4 separate regions of the Homo sapiens genome follow, and all the other regions are linked to region 4. Evidence: promoter capture Hi-C in 16 types of primary human blood cells and fetal thymus (Javierre and others, 2016). All regions are on one chromosome and are shown on one strand. Each heading gives the region's core, a stretch centred on a gene start or on the middle of the fragment in contact. The rest is flanking DNA. Distances are from core to core; before and after follow the strand shown.

Region 1 (3,894 bases), core at 533-3,032, 510 kb after region 4:
ATCAGGGGTCTCACAGCCTTCAGAGCTGAGATCCCTGAACAGAGATTTACCCACATATTTATTAACAGCAAGCCAGTCATTAGCATTGTTTCTACAGATATTAAATTAACTAAAAGTATCCTTTGTGGGAAACGAAGAGATGGGCAATTAAAGGAATAGGTTGGGCTAGTTAACTGCAGCAGGAGCATGTCCTTAAGGCACAGATCGTTCATGCTATTGTTTATGGCTTAAGAATGCCTTTAAGCAGTTTTCCACCCTGGGCAGGCCACGTGTTCCTTGCCCTCATTCTGGTAAACTGACAGCCTTCCAGCGTGGGCGTTATGTTCATCATGAACATGTCACAGTGCTGCAGAGATTTTGTTTATGGCCAGTTTTGGGGCCGGTTTATGGCCAGATTTTGCGGGGCTTGTTCCCAACAGTTGCCTGGCTTGGAGTGCAGTGGTGTGATCATGGCTCACTGCAGCCTCAAACCCCTGGGCTCAAGCCATCCTCCCACCTCAGCCTACTGAGGAGCTAGCTGGGACCACAAACACAGGCCTCTGTGCCCAGATGATTTTTGTAGAGACAGGGTTTTTCCATGTTACCCAGGCTGGTCTCAAACTCCTGGACTCAAGTGTTCCACCTGCCTCAGCCTCCCTAAGTGCTGTGACTACAGGTGTGAGCCACCACATCTAGCACACCTAGTGCAGTCCTTCTAGAGACTGGGCCACTCCCAGCCCCGGAGCAACCTTACTTAAGCCCTCCCCGATCAGATAGGCAGCCTGACAAGTTGCATTTCCTGGGGAAGAGCAGCAAGAACCCTGCTCTGGGAGTCAGGAGTTCCCGATTCTAGCCCAGAGCTGCTTTCCTTACTAGTTATTGATCTTGCCCAACTCACTTCCTGTCTCTGGCTCTGTTTCCCAATCTGTAAAATTGTTACTGGAAAGGGGTCCCAATCTAGACCCAAAGAAAGGTGAGGAGAGCAAAAATCACCCCCCCCAAGACAAAAAGTTCTTATCTGAGCAATTTAGATAAGGAGCAATCCGCCAGGCGCAGTGGCTCACACCTGTAATCCCAGCACTTTGGGAGGCCGAGGCGGGTGGATCACGAGGTTAGGAGATCGAGACCATCCTGGCTAACATGGTGAAACCTCGTCTCTACTAAAAATACAAAAAATTAGCTGGGCGTGGTGGCGGGGCACCTGTAGTCCCAGCTACTCGGGAGGCTGAGGCAGGAGAATGGCATGAACCCGGGAGGCGGAGCTTGCAGTGAGCAGAGATCGAACCACTGCACTCCAGCCTGGGTGATAGAGCAAGACTCCGTCTCAAAAAAAAAAAAAAAAAGGAGCAATCCAAGGAGCAAAGACCACCTGTTGACCATCAAACAGGCCATCTGGAGGCGAAACTCCTTGCCTGGGGAATTTAGAAGTAATAAAGGCCAGGCATGGTGAATCACACACACTTTGTGAGCACTTTGGGAGCCAAGGCAGGTGGATCACTTGAGGTCAACAGTTAGAGACCAGCCTGGCCAACATGATGAAACACCCTCCCTGCAAAAATTAGCCGGGCATGATGGTGCATGCCTGTAATCCCAGCTACTCAGGAGACTAAGACAGGAGAATTGGTTGAACCAGCAGGCAGAGGTTGCAGTGAGCTGAGATCAGGCCACTGCACTCCAGCTTGGGCGACAGAGGGAGACTCTGTCTCAAAAGAAAAAACAAACAAAAAAAACTTCCCTAGTATTTAAAGTCGGCATCTGATTCCAAGCCTCTTTCAACTTTTATAAGTAACTAAAATGTCTATACATTCTTTTTAAAAAAAAAAAAAAATTCAACAAACACTTATTTCTCACACTTCTGGAGGCTAGGAAGTCCAAGATCAAGGTGCTTATAGATTCAGTGTCTGGTGGGGGCTCACTTCCTGCTTTATGAGCTATGCCTTCTCACTGTGGTTTCACATGGTAGAAAGGGGTAGGGCTTTCTCTCTGGCCTCCCTTACAAAGGCACCAACCCCATTCCTGAGGGCTCTGCCCTCACAACGTAAAATTTCTGTACATTCTATGCCATGCTGAAGCTCATTTTACAACCCTAAGCTCTCACCTTAAGGTCCATACATGCTCCTAAGGAAAATCCACCACAGCGCACTCAGTCCTCCCGTGGAGGCACCTGCTGCACTCTGCTGCAGTGTTCTTCCTTTCTAATAAACTTTCCTTTTCCAAACCTATACTGTTGTCAGTAAGTTCTTTCTTTTTTGAGACCCCTCCCCCCACCCCAAGACATGCCAGTAGTCCCAGCTAGTTGGGATGCTGAGACAGGAGATGGCACCACTGCACTCCAGCCTGGGCAACAGAGCGAGACTCATCTCAAAAAAAAAAAAAAAAGGATCAAACAGTACTAAAGACCCTATTATAAAAGTCTTTCACTCACAGTGTCCCTGAATCTCCCCCTCCCTCCCACAACCACTGTTTACAGAGCCTTAAATAAACAGATGATAATGTGTTACCTTGCTCAGTCCCTGGCCTGGAGTGCTGTGGTGCCATCTGGACTCACTGCAGCCTTGACCTCCCAGACTCAAGCGAGCCTACCCTCTCAACCTCCTCAGTAGCTGGGACCACAGGCACATGCCATCATGCTGGGCTAATCTTTGTATTTTTTGTAGAGAAGGAGGGGTTTTGCCTTGTTGCCCAGGCTGGTCTTGGACTCCTAGATTCAAGTGATCTGCCTGCCTCAACCTCTTAGGATCAGGGGCCACTGCAATGGGCTAGACATTTTTTTTTTTGAGTCAGGGTCTTACTCTGTTGCCTGGCCTGGAGTGCAGTGGTGTGGTCATGGCTCACTGCAGCCTCAAACCCCTGGGTTCAAGCCGTCCTCCTGTCTCAGCCTCCTGAGGAGCTAGCTGGGACCACAAACACAGGCCACTGTGCCCAGATGATTTTTGTAGAGACAGGGTTTCTCCATGTTACCCAGGCTGGTCTCGAACTCCTGGACTTAAGCGCTCCACCTGCCTCGGCCTCCCTAAGTGCTGTGACTACGGGTGTGAGCCACCACATCTAGCACACCTAGTGCAGTCCTTCTGGAGAGTGGGCCACTCCCAGCCCCGGAGCAGCCTTACTCAAGCCCTCCCTGATCAGATAGGCAGCCTGACAAGTTGCACTGCCTGGGGAAGAGCAGCAAGAACCCTGCTCTGGAAGTTAAGAGTTCCCGGTTCTAGCCCAGAGCTGCTTTCCTTACTAGTTATTGATCTTGCCGAAGTCATTTCCTGTCTCTGGCTCTGTTTCCCAATCTGTAAAATTGTTACTGGAAAGGGGTCCCAATCTAGACCCTAAGAAAGGTGAGAGAGCGAACGGGCCCCGGAGACAAAAAGTTCTTATCTGAGCAATTTAGATAAGGAGCAATCTAAGGAGCAAAGACCACATGTTGACCATCAAACAGGCCATCTGGAGGCAAAACTTGTCTGGAGAATTTAGAAGTAATCCCAGCACTTTGGAAGGCTGAGGTAGATGGATCACTTAAGGTCAAGAGTTCGAGGGAGCGGCAGCGGCGGCCAGGCACGGCGCGAGGCGACGCCACAGGACAGCGGCGGCAGCAGGAAATGCAGCGGCGGCCGCAGCAGCAGCAAAACGGATCGGTGGAGAGGCGCCGCCGCCGCCGGGCCGGGCGTCGCGCGCCGAGGCTCGGGGGGAGTCGTCGCAGCCGCCGCCACCGCTACCGCAGCCGCCGCCGCCGCCGCCGCCCAGGTGACTGAGGAGAGAGGCACCTCCTCGCTCCCGCCGCCGCCGGACTTCAATGCCCAGTCCCCAGCTCGCCAGCGTTTTTCGTTGGAATATACGTTGCACATTTATGGCGATTCTGAATGTGAGAGCAGATTTCTGCCAGGCTGAGCACAGCGTTTTCGCTGACAAGTGAGCTTGGAGGTT
Region 2 (3,525 bases), core at 118-2,617, 540 kb after region 4:
TTAAGTTTCGGATACCACGGCACATTACTGGAATCTTGGAGACTGGCTTCTCTCCCTTTTGATCTCCATGCACAACTTACCTGAGATGTATTCTAATAGCAACCTGGCTTCCCCTCCACACTCAGCCTTTCAAGCGCCCATTAGCTTCGCAGTAAATCTCCCACACTAGGTATCCAGCCTTTGCCTTTTTCTTTTTTCTTTTTTTTTTTCCAGAGGGAGTTTCGCTTTTTTTTTTTTTTTTTTTTTTTTGAGACGGAGTCTCACTCTGTCACCCAGGCTGGAGTGTAGTGGTGCGATCTCGGCTCACTGCAAGCTCTTCCTCCCGGGTTCACGCCATTCTCCTGCCTCAGCCTCCCGAGTAGCTGGGACTACAGGCGTCTGCCACCATGCCCGGCTAATTTTTTTTTGTATTTTTAGTAGAGACGGGGTTTCACCGTGTTAGCCAGGATGGTCTCGATCTCCTGACCTCGTGATCCGCCCGCCTCGGCCTCCCAAAGTGCTGGGATTACAGGCGTCAGCCACCGCGCCCGGCCGGGAGTTTCGCTCTTGTTGCCCAGGTTGGAGTGCAATGGCACAATCTTGGCTCACCGCGACCTCCGCCCACGGGTTCAGGCGATTCTCCTGCCTCAGCCTCCTGAGTAGCTGGGATTACAGCCATGCGCCACCACGCTCGTCTAATTTTGTATTTTTAGTAGAGACAAGGTTTCTCCATATTGGTCAGGTTGGTCTCGAACTCCCGACCTCAGATGCTCTGCCCACCTCGGCATCCCAAAGTGCTGGGATTACAGGCGTGAGCCACCGCGCCCAATCAGCCTTTGCCTTTTTCTCCTGTCCACAGAGACCCCGCAAACAAGCGCATCAGAGGATCTGGGTGGTGCGAGAGCCTCCTACAGCAGCCAGGTACACACAAGGCCTCAGTTTTTCCATCTGTGAAATGGGTACGTGGACAGACCTGTCCAGTAGCCTCCCATGTGAGAATCCTCGGACTGAGAGGGTACTAGGAGGGCTAATACAGCGCAGCCCTGTGATTCCCCACCTCTGTCCCTGGAATGAAGGAAATCTGGGTGTTAGTTCTGGCTTTGCCGATGCCTCTTGGGTGGCCTGGCTGAAACTAATCTCTCCTCATCAGGCCAGAAGGGAATCTGTGAAATGGGCTTTGAAACCTGCCTTGCCTTTCTCCGCCCGGTCCCAGCGGGGGTCCGATCGGCATCAAGGCTTCACCCACTCCCAGAGCCTTCGGGATCAGCCCCACCCCATCAGCAGGACACAGCCCATGCCACTGGAAATCTCGCGAGAATCCCGCGCTGAAGCGAAGTCGAGACGTTTGACCTTCCTCCGTTTCCGTAGTTCCGAGTTGCGGTTTCTCCGTTAGTGCTTCCGGGTTGCAGCCAGGGAAGCCTCCGCGGTGGTGCAAGTGGAACCCAAGCCTTGAGGTTTCAGTGAGTAGGGGGCCGACGTGAGCTTTAGCGTCCCCCTTTAGCCTCCCTCTTCGATTCCTTGAAGACCCTGGTGCAGCTTAGCAAGAGGGCCCAGGATTTTTGGATCCCCAGCCCTGTGACAAGGGTTCCTGTCCAGTTTCCCCCTCCCAGGATTTCGACTCAGTTCAGCGAAGTCACCGCCCCGTCTGAGAAATGAGGACACCAAGGCTTAGAGCACAGCCCCGAGGCGCCGTCTACCAGGCCCCGTCCCCTCCCCCGGCTCCTGTCGGTCAGCACTGAAACCCCGTCCCTGCTCCAGGCCTCCTTCTCTGGGGTCCAAGGTCCCATACAGGCCTCTGCCTCGGCCGCAGGCCCTTCAGTCACCGTCGCCTCGTCTCCCTGACTGTCCGCAGGCCTGGGCAGCATGGCCGTATTCCGGTCGGGTCTCCTGGTGCTGACGACGCCGCTGGCCTCCCTAGCCCCTCGCCTGGCCTCCATCCTGACCTCGGCGGCCCGGCTGGTGAATCACACACTCTATGTTCACCTGCAGCCGGGCATGAGCCTGGAGGGCCCGGCTCAGCCCCAGTCCAGCCCCGTGCAGGCCACGTTTGAGGTTCTTGATTTCATCACGCACCTCTATGCTGGCGCCGACGTCCACAGGCACTTGGACGTCAGAATCCTACTGACCAATATCCGAACCAAGAGCACCTTTCTCCCTCCCCTGCCCACCTCAGTCCAGAATCTCGCCCACCCGCCAGAAGTCGTGTTGACAGATTTCCAGACCCTGGATGGAAGCCAGTACAACCCGGTCAAACAGCAGCTAGTGCGTTACGCCACCAGCTGTTACAGCTGTTGTCCGCGACTGGCCTCGGTGCTGCTATACTCCGATTATGGGATAGGAGAAGTGCCCGTGGAGCCCCTGGATGTCCCCTTACCCTCCACGATCAGGCCAGCTTCCCCCGTGGCCGGGTCTCCAAAGCAGCCGGTGCGTGGCTACTACCGTGGCGCTGTCGGTGGCACGTTTGACCGCCTGCACAACGCCCACAAGGTGTTGCTCAGTGTCGCGTGCATCCTGGCCCAGGAGCAGCTTGTGGTGGGAGTAGCAGACAAAGATCTGTTGAAGAGTGAGTAAGAGGGACCCTGGACTAGGGTGGAGGATCCCCAAATCTCCCCACCCCCGACCCTTATGCCGAGATCAAGGAAGGGTAGGGCCATTCATTACTTCCCACCCTTCCCAAATGTCACAGTGGTTGACACTCAATTGGTGCTAAGGCCATTTTGTCAAATGAACAGCTTTCTCAGCATGTGGTCCAGTCACCACTCAATCAGAATACCCCAAATGTGAAGCAAAGGGATCTGCATTTTAGCAAGTTTTCCAGGTGATACACCCTAATGAGACACTGGGAATGAATGGGTGAGTGAGCTGCAGGTAGCAGTGCCACAGACAGGAGGAGGAAACTCAAGCATGGCATGGGTCTTGGAATTTTCCATCTGCCTCTGATGCCCTCTGGCACTGCTCGTTCTCTGGAGTGGTTTCCTGGTGGCTTATTCTCTGGACACATGCCAGCCCTTGGAGTGACTATTGTGCTTGCCTGTTTCTTCACCTTCATGCTCCCCTCACCATCACCATAGGCCTTACCAGTTGAACCCTTTCTGCCACCCCCTCTGGGGATACTGTACTTAGGGACACTTTTTCCCAAACTGGCCCATACTCTCCTCCCCAATAAAAAGATCTCACTGTTCTTCTGGGCTCCTTCCCCAGGCAAGTTGCTCCCTGAGCTGCTCCAACCTTATACAGAACGTGTGGAACATCTGAGTGAATTCCTGGTGGACATCAAGCCCTCCTTGACTTTTGATGTCATCCCCCTGCTGGACCCCTATGGGCCCGCTGGCTCTGACCCCTCCCTGGAGTTCCTGGTGGTCAGCGAGGAGACCTATCGTGGGGGGATGGCCATCAACCGCTTCCGCCTTGAGAATGTAACCCCTGAGGGAGACTGGCAGAGGGAGTGGATGGGGGACGGGGAAGGCCATTTTGAGGGGGCTGTTGGAAGTACCATGGCCCCAGAGGAGAGAAGTGGGGGCTCAGGGTGGTGGGAAGAAGCAAGGA
Region 3 (3,648 bases), core at 1,132-3,631, 590 kb after region 4:
CAGCCTGGGCAATATAGTGAGACCCTGTCTCCACAAAAAATTTAAAAAATTAGCCAAGCATGATGATGTGCACCTCTGGTCCCAGCTATTGTGGAGGCTGAGGTGGGAAGATTGCTTGAGCCCAGGAAGTGGAAGTTGCAATGAGCCGAGATCATACCACTGCACTCCAGCCTGGGTGATAGAGCAAGACCTTGTCTCAAAAAAAAAAAAAAAAAAAAAAAGGCCAGGCGCAGTGGCTCACGCCTGTAATCCCAGCACTTTGGGAGGCCGAGGCAGGCAGATCACCTGACCTCGGGAGTTCGAGACCAGCCTGACCAACATGGAGAAACCCCATCTCTACTAAAAAAATACAAAATTAGCCGGTTGTGGTGGTTCATGCCTGTAATCCCAGCTACTTGGGGGGCTGAGGCAGGAGAAATGCTTGAATCTGGGAGGCGGAGGTTGCAGTGAGCCGAGATCACGCCATTGCACTCCAGCCTGGGCAATAAGAGTGAAACTCTGTCTTAAAAAAAAAAAAAAGGGAAAAAGCACTACCAAAAATAAATGAAGAACGTGGTAGGAAAAGTTTACCATCGAGTTTGCTAAAGGCTCTGGAAGCCACAAATGCCAGAGACTACTGTGACACCTTTAACTGGGTCTCTTTCAAACTGGGAGAGGATTAGCTTAATAGCTGAACACTGTTTTCGGGTCAATGAACTTGGAATTATTTGTTCTGCTTCAGCTCACTGAAAATCTTTCAGATAAAGGATAATAAATGTTTTGATTTTAAAACAAATTTTAAGGGGAAAGCTATTTTTAGCAAAAACACAATTAAAAAACACACATATTTTGTTGTTTCAGGCTTATCCAGAATAGTCTTAATCCATTCAGCAGCAGAAAGCCCCCTATAAGTCAGTTCCCTTGGAACCTCCTCCATTACAAATAAATCCAAAATTATGGTTGGTAGATCCTATGAAGTCCTAGGTCCACTTCAGGTGATGACAACTGAGAGAAGCAGCAGTTCCATTTTCACAGAGCATGACACACACAAATAAAGCATATTTACAGTGCTACTTTTCCAGCTCAGGAAAACTCACACACAGTATTAGACATCAATTTCCTTGCCTATAAACCATGGCTAAGGATGCCTCTCTAATTCCTTGGAACAGGGAGGAGTTACAATCACAGGTGGCTTTGACACGCGTGTAATCTCCGTCATCATTTCCTAACTGTTCTTTAAAAGCTTGTAATTTTCTTTCAATTTTCAGCTTTGGGGGCTCACACTGACGCTTAGACTTCATAAACTTCCTTCCTAGATATATAACATGCTAATTCATGCGAATCGCTCAAGCTTGTTTTATAATCACACCTATGGATACCTTTGCAAGACTTCACGCCTCTACTCCAACAATAAACTACTAAAACCTCTGGAAACAATCTAGAACTTGCACTTGAGCAGACAAGAGAAAGGAAGTGATGGCTTTAAAGGGACGCAGCTTTGTCGGGCTCAAAAGAGGAGCCCTCGCTCACTCTTGAGCGGCTCAAGATGTTACCAGAAGCTCCCGCCAGATGTGCGGGGCGGGGGTGCGGGCACAGGTAAGGCAGAGAAGATGGGTGGACGGCCCTGGGAAGAACTAGGGTGCCGAAGCCTGCAGGCGGGATGGAGTGGAAGGAGGTGAGGCAAAATTAGGCAAGTACAGGAAGGAGCCAGTGCAGCGAAGAAAACAGGGCAGGCGAGAAGTAGAGCCCTAGAGGAACCAACGAATTCGGGACTCGGAGGGTTTCCGAGGGTCCAGTTCTCTCACCAGAAAGCCGCGTTCAGCCCCAGGCACCACAGAGCGCTCCTAGCTGGCCGCTCCCACACCAGGGCTGCCTGCACCCGACTCAGCAGAGGCTCGTAAGGCCCCAGCACCTCCACCAGGGCCCGCTGCGCCGCCTCAACCTGCTGGTCCCGCTCCCAGGAGCCTGACACATCTCGGCGGCCCCTGAAAGTCGACCCCGAAGCCGGGCCTGGGGTCGTGGGAACCCCTTCGGCCTCAGCCATCTCCCCGCGGCAGCCACAACATCCGGGGCCGTGGCCCGACAAGTCACAATAACAGCAACTGCGCAGATGCGCGATTCGGCGGGGGAGGTGGCTTCGCACCACAGCGCGCTTGCGCGCAGGCCCAAGCAGGCGCCCACCCAGAGGGGAGGGAGGACGCCGTACCCCGCCCTCACTGAGGCGCGGAGCCGGATCCGGAGGCGCCGAGCCGCATCCGGAGCCGCGCACGCGCAATCTGCATGAACGAAGGCCAGTGCTTAAAGACGTGCCATTCATTGCCAGAACTCGATTCTCATTGGAGCGGAGGAAGTTCGTGGGTGGAGCTGGTTGTTTGGCGCCTGCGTCTTGCGGCGAGCGGGCTGGCGTGCGGCGCCGTTGCGGGCGGGAGCGGCTGCAACGCCGGTGCCTGAGGAGCGATGCCGAGGGAAATCATCACCCTACAGTTGGGCCAGTGCGGCAATCAGAGTGAGCGAAACTCCGGCCCCTCAGCTAGCCAGGTTCCTTAGGGTCAATGGGATCTCGCTGTGGGATCCTGGACTCCATCTGTCCTTGCCAGAATCGTAGTTCTCTGAAAGGCGAGACATCCCTGACCCAGTGTCCACTTGCCCAACCCCGAGGGGCCCTCCCCTGCCCAGTCCCTGGCGTACAGTCCTTTCCTCAGACACGGGAGAGTCCTGCGGCTTGACTTCTTATCCCTGGACGCAGGCGCCCAGTCCCCCGGCTCCTGATTGGAACCTGCCCGGACCTAGATATCTTCTTTCTCCCCTGCCCGCCCCTTCCCCCCAGTTGGGTTCGAGTTCTGGAAACAGCTGTGCGCCGAGCATGGTATCAGCCCCGAGGGCATCGTGGAGGAGTTCGCCACCGAGGGCACTGACCGCAAGGACGTCTTTTTCTACCAGGTGCCCCCAGCGACTTGGCCGGGGGCGGCAGTTGCCCAAGGGGGCGGAAGGGAAGGGAGTGGCCTGGTACTGGGAACCCCGCTGGGCAGTAGGGCCAGGCGGCTGGCTTGAGGAGGGAGGGCCGGAGGGAGCCAGAGTTGGGAGGACTTCGGACTTGGGCCGCCCTAGCTGATTGGGCCCCCTCCTGGACTCCCCTTGACAGGCAGACGATGAGCACTACATCCCCCGGGCCGTGCTGCTGGACTTGGAACCCCGGGTGATCCACTCCATCCTCAACTCCCCCTATGCCAAGCTCTACAACCCAGAGAACATCTACCTGTCGGAACATGGAGGAGGAGCTGGCAACAACTGGGCCAGCGGATTCTCCCAGGTCGTTTCCTATTCCCTGGCAGGGCCCACAACTCGCTGGGTAGGGACAGGCTCTATGACGTCCCGAAGAGAGGGAAAACCGGATCAGGGATGTATGAATGCTGGAGGGAGAGACCTGGCTGCAGGGAGTGGACTATGTAATATTGTCAAGCGCCTACACTAGCTAATGCAGTGTGCCAGGTCATTCTAAGTGCTTTACATATATTAATTTTTCTAAATCTCCCAACAACCCTAGAAGTAAGTACTACAGGTCCACAGTCCCTTATCTGCCTTTCCAGGATCCAGAAAGCCATGAAACCAAAGGACATTTCATAACTAGTTTATCAGCAAAAACAAATTTCAATGAAGACAGGCTGTTTT
Region 4 (3,682 bases), core at 465-2,964:
GCACGTGTAGTCCCAGCAACTGGTGAGGCTGAGGCAGGAGAATGGTGTGAACTCAGGAGGCGGAGCTTGCAGTGAGCTGAGGTCGCGCCACTACACTCCAGCCTGGGCGACAGAGCGAGATTCCGTCTCAAAAAATAAAAAATAAATAACCTGTGGCCAAATCCCTATTTACAGTATAAAGAACCACTGAACTCTTTCCAAATACAAGTAAATCTCTACAATTAATTTAAGCTCCGTCTGCACTGGGAGGAATTTTGTTTCCCATTGTGCAGCTCTTTAATGATGTATAAGGGTTGATGATGCTTAGCTTTAAATATCTAGGAAGAAGTAGGAACAACATGAAAGCTCAAAATTAAGAACAGAGACTGGACTCTGGTGTCCTGGCTTCTCTGATATCCCAGGGGCCTATTACACTTTGTCAGGCCCCTCAGCTCCCAGCAGATCAGGAACTTGAGATCTGGCTGTGGTAACCACCCTCAAGCTTGATAACTATTCATTGCGTCCGAGTACTTCTTATATTTCGAACTCATTAGATAGTAAAAATCTCAGAATCCTGATTTCAGATCTCATGAACTAATTCTACATCACCGCCTCAAATTACCCAGCCTGAAGACACAACGGGCTTGGTATGAAGATATAAAGTATGTTGCAAAGAGACTGAGGGCACTGTAGATATCTTGAACAAAAGGGTCAGACTAACCCGCAGCTGATAAGGAAAGGGCTCCAAACTTCTAGAACCTTCTTGTCAATTCTGCTTTAGGATTAGAACAAGTATGACTACCCACAACTCTGTTCCAACCCCACTTCCAATAATCTGGCCTAACTGTTGCCAGAATCTAGAGCGTTCTCGAAAACCACTCACTCAGCAGCTCCCTTGGCTAGTCCGACTGGCAATCTCGAACCACTGCGGCTGCTTCGGAGTGCCAACAGCGCCCAAGCAGTTGCCCTCTTCCTTGGTGCTTAACTTAAGAAAGAACAGTGCTGGGAAGGATAAAGATCACCCAGGAAGGACAGGGGAAGAGGAGTCTGACGTAGAGAACACGAGATAAGCCCCTCGCTCTTCCTTTTTTTCTCTGTCATCTTTGACTTCTGGGATAACCGGGGGCAACCAGGTCAATTATGGAGACACACAATCACTTCGAACCCAGACTAGTGATCGCTGGGGTATAATTACAAGGGAAAACGGGGTGAGGAGAGCAAAGGTTTTGGAGACGGAAAGTGCAGACAGGCAACAATGCACAGAAGTTAACAAGAGAACGCGGGGGTCGGGGGCGATGTAAGGAAGTCGTCATCGACGCCGCGCCGCTTCCCCCACCTCGCACCAGACCTCTGAAATTGCCCTCGGAGACTCGGCCTCTCCTATAAGGACGATCGTCCTCTCAGCTGGAGAACAAGGCCATGCCTCAGCTCCTACGCCAGGCGGAAGCGGGAGAGGAAGGCCGACCCCCAAGAGCGCCCCTTCAGGGGGTCCATCCGGCCTTGATCTCAGATGGGGGGGTGTTTGCGGAGGGCGGGGCATCGCCTCAACAGCTGGGGGCTGCATCATGGCAGGAACGAGTTTCCCTGAGCCACGGAGCTGCAGGTCGCCTCCTCTACTACCCTGCTACCCGGTTACCTCTTCGCCTCTTGGTCGTCGAGCAGCTCCGGCTCGGTCGCCGCCATTACCACATCGCACTCCGCGGCAGCCGCCATCTTACCGCCGGGACCAGAGAGCTGGGTGGGAGGCCGGCGGTGAAGAGCACTTCCGGTTGGAGCATAGAGCAGCTCCGCGGCGCCGCGCCCAGAAGGGCTCCCTCGGGCTCGTCTACCAGAGAGAGGCTCCGCTTGGGGCCAGAGCGGCCTCCCGCCCCCGGATGTCCACGGTGGTCTCCGCGCCGGGGCGGGAGCCCAGGGGCTGTGCCGGTGCGTAGGCGGCGCCACTTTACCCGTGGGTGGGAAGGCGGGGTGTACCGGTGGTAGCCTCTCTAGGGCTTGGCTGCTTTCAGTATTCCAAGAGCCTCATTGCCATAGCAACTTCCAATCCTAGAGAGTCTTCCTGAAAGGCTCCGTGGAGTCTGGGTTGCGTGGGGACCAGGTGACCCAAGACTCTGTAGGGAAGGAGTCCCCACTGCTACCTTTCCGACCTTGGAGTGTGTCCACAGCTTCTTCCCGGGAAAGTCAAGAGACACTTTGAGCTCAGTTCCCCCAGCTTTCATCGTTCTCTGGAAGCCCTGCCCAGTCAAGCCAGGGGAACGCAGGGCGTCTTCACCCTGCGCCTTTCATCCACTCCGGATCTCCAAACACCAACTGGTTCATCACCCTAATGACGCTGACCCTTTTACAAGGCTCCTTTCATGTCAGCCGCCTGGGAGTGCCATCTCAGCATTAAGCCTAGGAAAGCTGACACATGGCGCCCCAGACCCTGCCCTGGAGTTTATAAGGAAGCTCGCGGGGTGAGGTCCTTGCTCTTGTGTCCCCAGTACTCCCACCTCTTATATAAACTCTCTACTCATCACGCTTGCCTTGCCGAATGCGGTCTGGATTGAGAATTCATAGGGGACAAGGGCACAGTTTAACTGTCTTTGTTGTTATTCCCTCACCCAAACGACTATTTGTGGAGCTGAATTAAATTGGAGCTTTCTGGGGTTAAATTGGAGGAGTATGAGGAGTAGCTTTACAATGTAAAGCTAAGAGTAAAATAAGAAGAGGGCAAAGGAATTTTAAAAGGATTTACCTGTTTGTTCCAGGAAAACAGCATGTGCCAATGCTCATACTCTGCCTATCCCAGTGTGGAGGGAGCTGAAACCACAGCGACCACTGAGTAGGGAGGGATAGGACAAGCTCACTAGGTTGGAAAGGAGGGGTCATTCGTTGAGCCAATCACTCAGCCCTTTCCAAAACGCCTACTCTGTGCTAGGTTGTGAGGGCACAAGACTTACAGACCACCTGCCCTGCCTGCCAGTGGCTCATAGTCCAGTCTAATGCTAGCCAACCTGTCTCACCATCTTCCCACTTTATGTTCTATCTAAGGCAACTCATTTATTCCCACAGCTTTACTTCCATCTGTTGATGACTCTCAACTTTTCATATCTCCAACCTAGACCTTTCTTCAGCTTCCACAGCTGTATATCCAACTATCTACTGGATATCTCTTGTATGTTTCACAAATCCCCAAGGCTTACCATATTTAAATTTAACTTTTTCATTGTCTACCCACACCTCAACAACAGAAAAAACAAATGTTGGATGTAATTATTATCTTTCCTAAATTCCGTATCTTGTTAAATGGATTAAACCATTCTCACTCTTGGCTTCCAATTTGTTGCCAAGTTTTGTTGATTCTCCTACCAAATATTTCCCAAATCTATCTCCACCTTTCCATCCCGATTCAGGCGCTCATCATTTTTTAAAATCTTGGAATAGGCTGGGTGTGGTGGCATGCATCTGTAGTCCCAGCTATTTGGGAGGCTGAGGCAGGAGGATCACTTGAGCCCAGGAGTTAGAGGCTGCAGTGAGCTATGATCACACCAATGTACTCCAGCATGGAGAAAAGAGCAAGACCCTGTCTCAAAAACGGCAACAACAACAACAACAAAACAACAGAAAAAAAAACTTGGAATACATCAATAGTCTCCTAATCGGTCTCTAATTTCATCTCTGTTCAGTCTTCCCTCTTCTGCCAGAGTGACCTTCCTCAGGGACT

What was found. Contacts are between HindIII fragments. The CHiCAGO score rates a contact against its expected background, and 5 or more counts as called.
Region 1: a contact is called between a fragment that was not itself captured here and the fragment with the promoter of DNAJC7 in region 4, in 1 of 17 cell types (fetal thymus). The highest score is 8.8, in fetal thymus.
Region 2: the fragment with the promoter of COASY here is called in contact with the fragment with the promoter of DNAJC7 in region 4 in 3 of 17 cell types (neutrophils, fetal thymus and activated CD4 T cells); the score reaches 7.4 in neutrophils.
Region 3: a contact is called between the fragment with the promoter of TUBG1 here and the fragment with the promoter of DNAJC7 in region 4, in 1 of 17 cell types (fetal thymus). The highest score is 5.2, in fetal thymus.

The regions. Positions count from the first base shown.
Region 1 is chr17:42,528,515-42,532,408 of GRCh38, forward strand. No RefSeq gene overlaps it. Among named protein-coding and RNA genes, the nearest start is that of NAGLU, 5.8 kb to the right of the region's middle. RefSeq lists a silencer at 3,616-3,765. The HindIII fragment of the contact is 6,143 bases long and covers 1-3,894 here.
Region 2 is chr17:42,560,781-42,564,305 of GRCh38, forward strand. It overlaps COASY (Coenzyme A synthase), which reads left to right and starts at 1,368. Exons shown (of 9, transcript NM_025233.7): 1 at 1,368-2,542; 2 at 3,181-3,395. The coding sequence starts at 1,843. RefSeq lists enhancers at 1,444-1,693, 1,704-1,893. The HindIII fragment of the contact is 14,901 bases long and covers 1-3,525 here.
Region 3 is chr17:42,607,302-42,610,949 of GRCh38, forward strand. TUBG1 (tubulin gamma 1) reads left to right here and starts at 2,382. Exons shown (of 11, transcript NM_001070.5): 1 at 2,382-2,485; 2 at 2,807-2,919; 3 at 3,122-3,289. The coding sequence starts at 2,437. It overlaps RETREG3 (reticulophagy regulator family member 3), which reads right to left and starts at 2,073. Exons shown (of 9, transcript NM_178126.4): 1 at 1,785-2,073. The coding sequence starts at 2,023. RefSeq lists an enhancer at 1,955-2,064. The HindIII fragment of the contact is 4,939 bases long and covers 1,329-3,648 here.
Region 4 is chr17:42,015,725-42,019,406 of GRCh38, forward strand. DNAJC7 (DnaJ heat shock protein family (Hsp40) member C7) reads right to left here and starts at 1,715. Exons shown (of 14, transcript NM_003315.4): 1 at 1,616-1,715. The coding sequence starts at 1,692. It also overlaps a transcript of NKIRAS2 not described here. RefSeq lists enhancers at 924-2,123, 1,234-1,283, 1,354-1,763 and a silencer at 1,874-2,023. The HindIII fragment of the contact is 9,207 bases long and covers 480-3,682 here.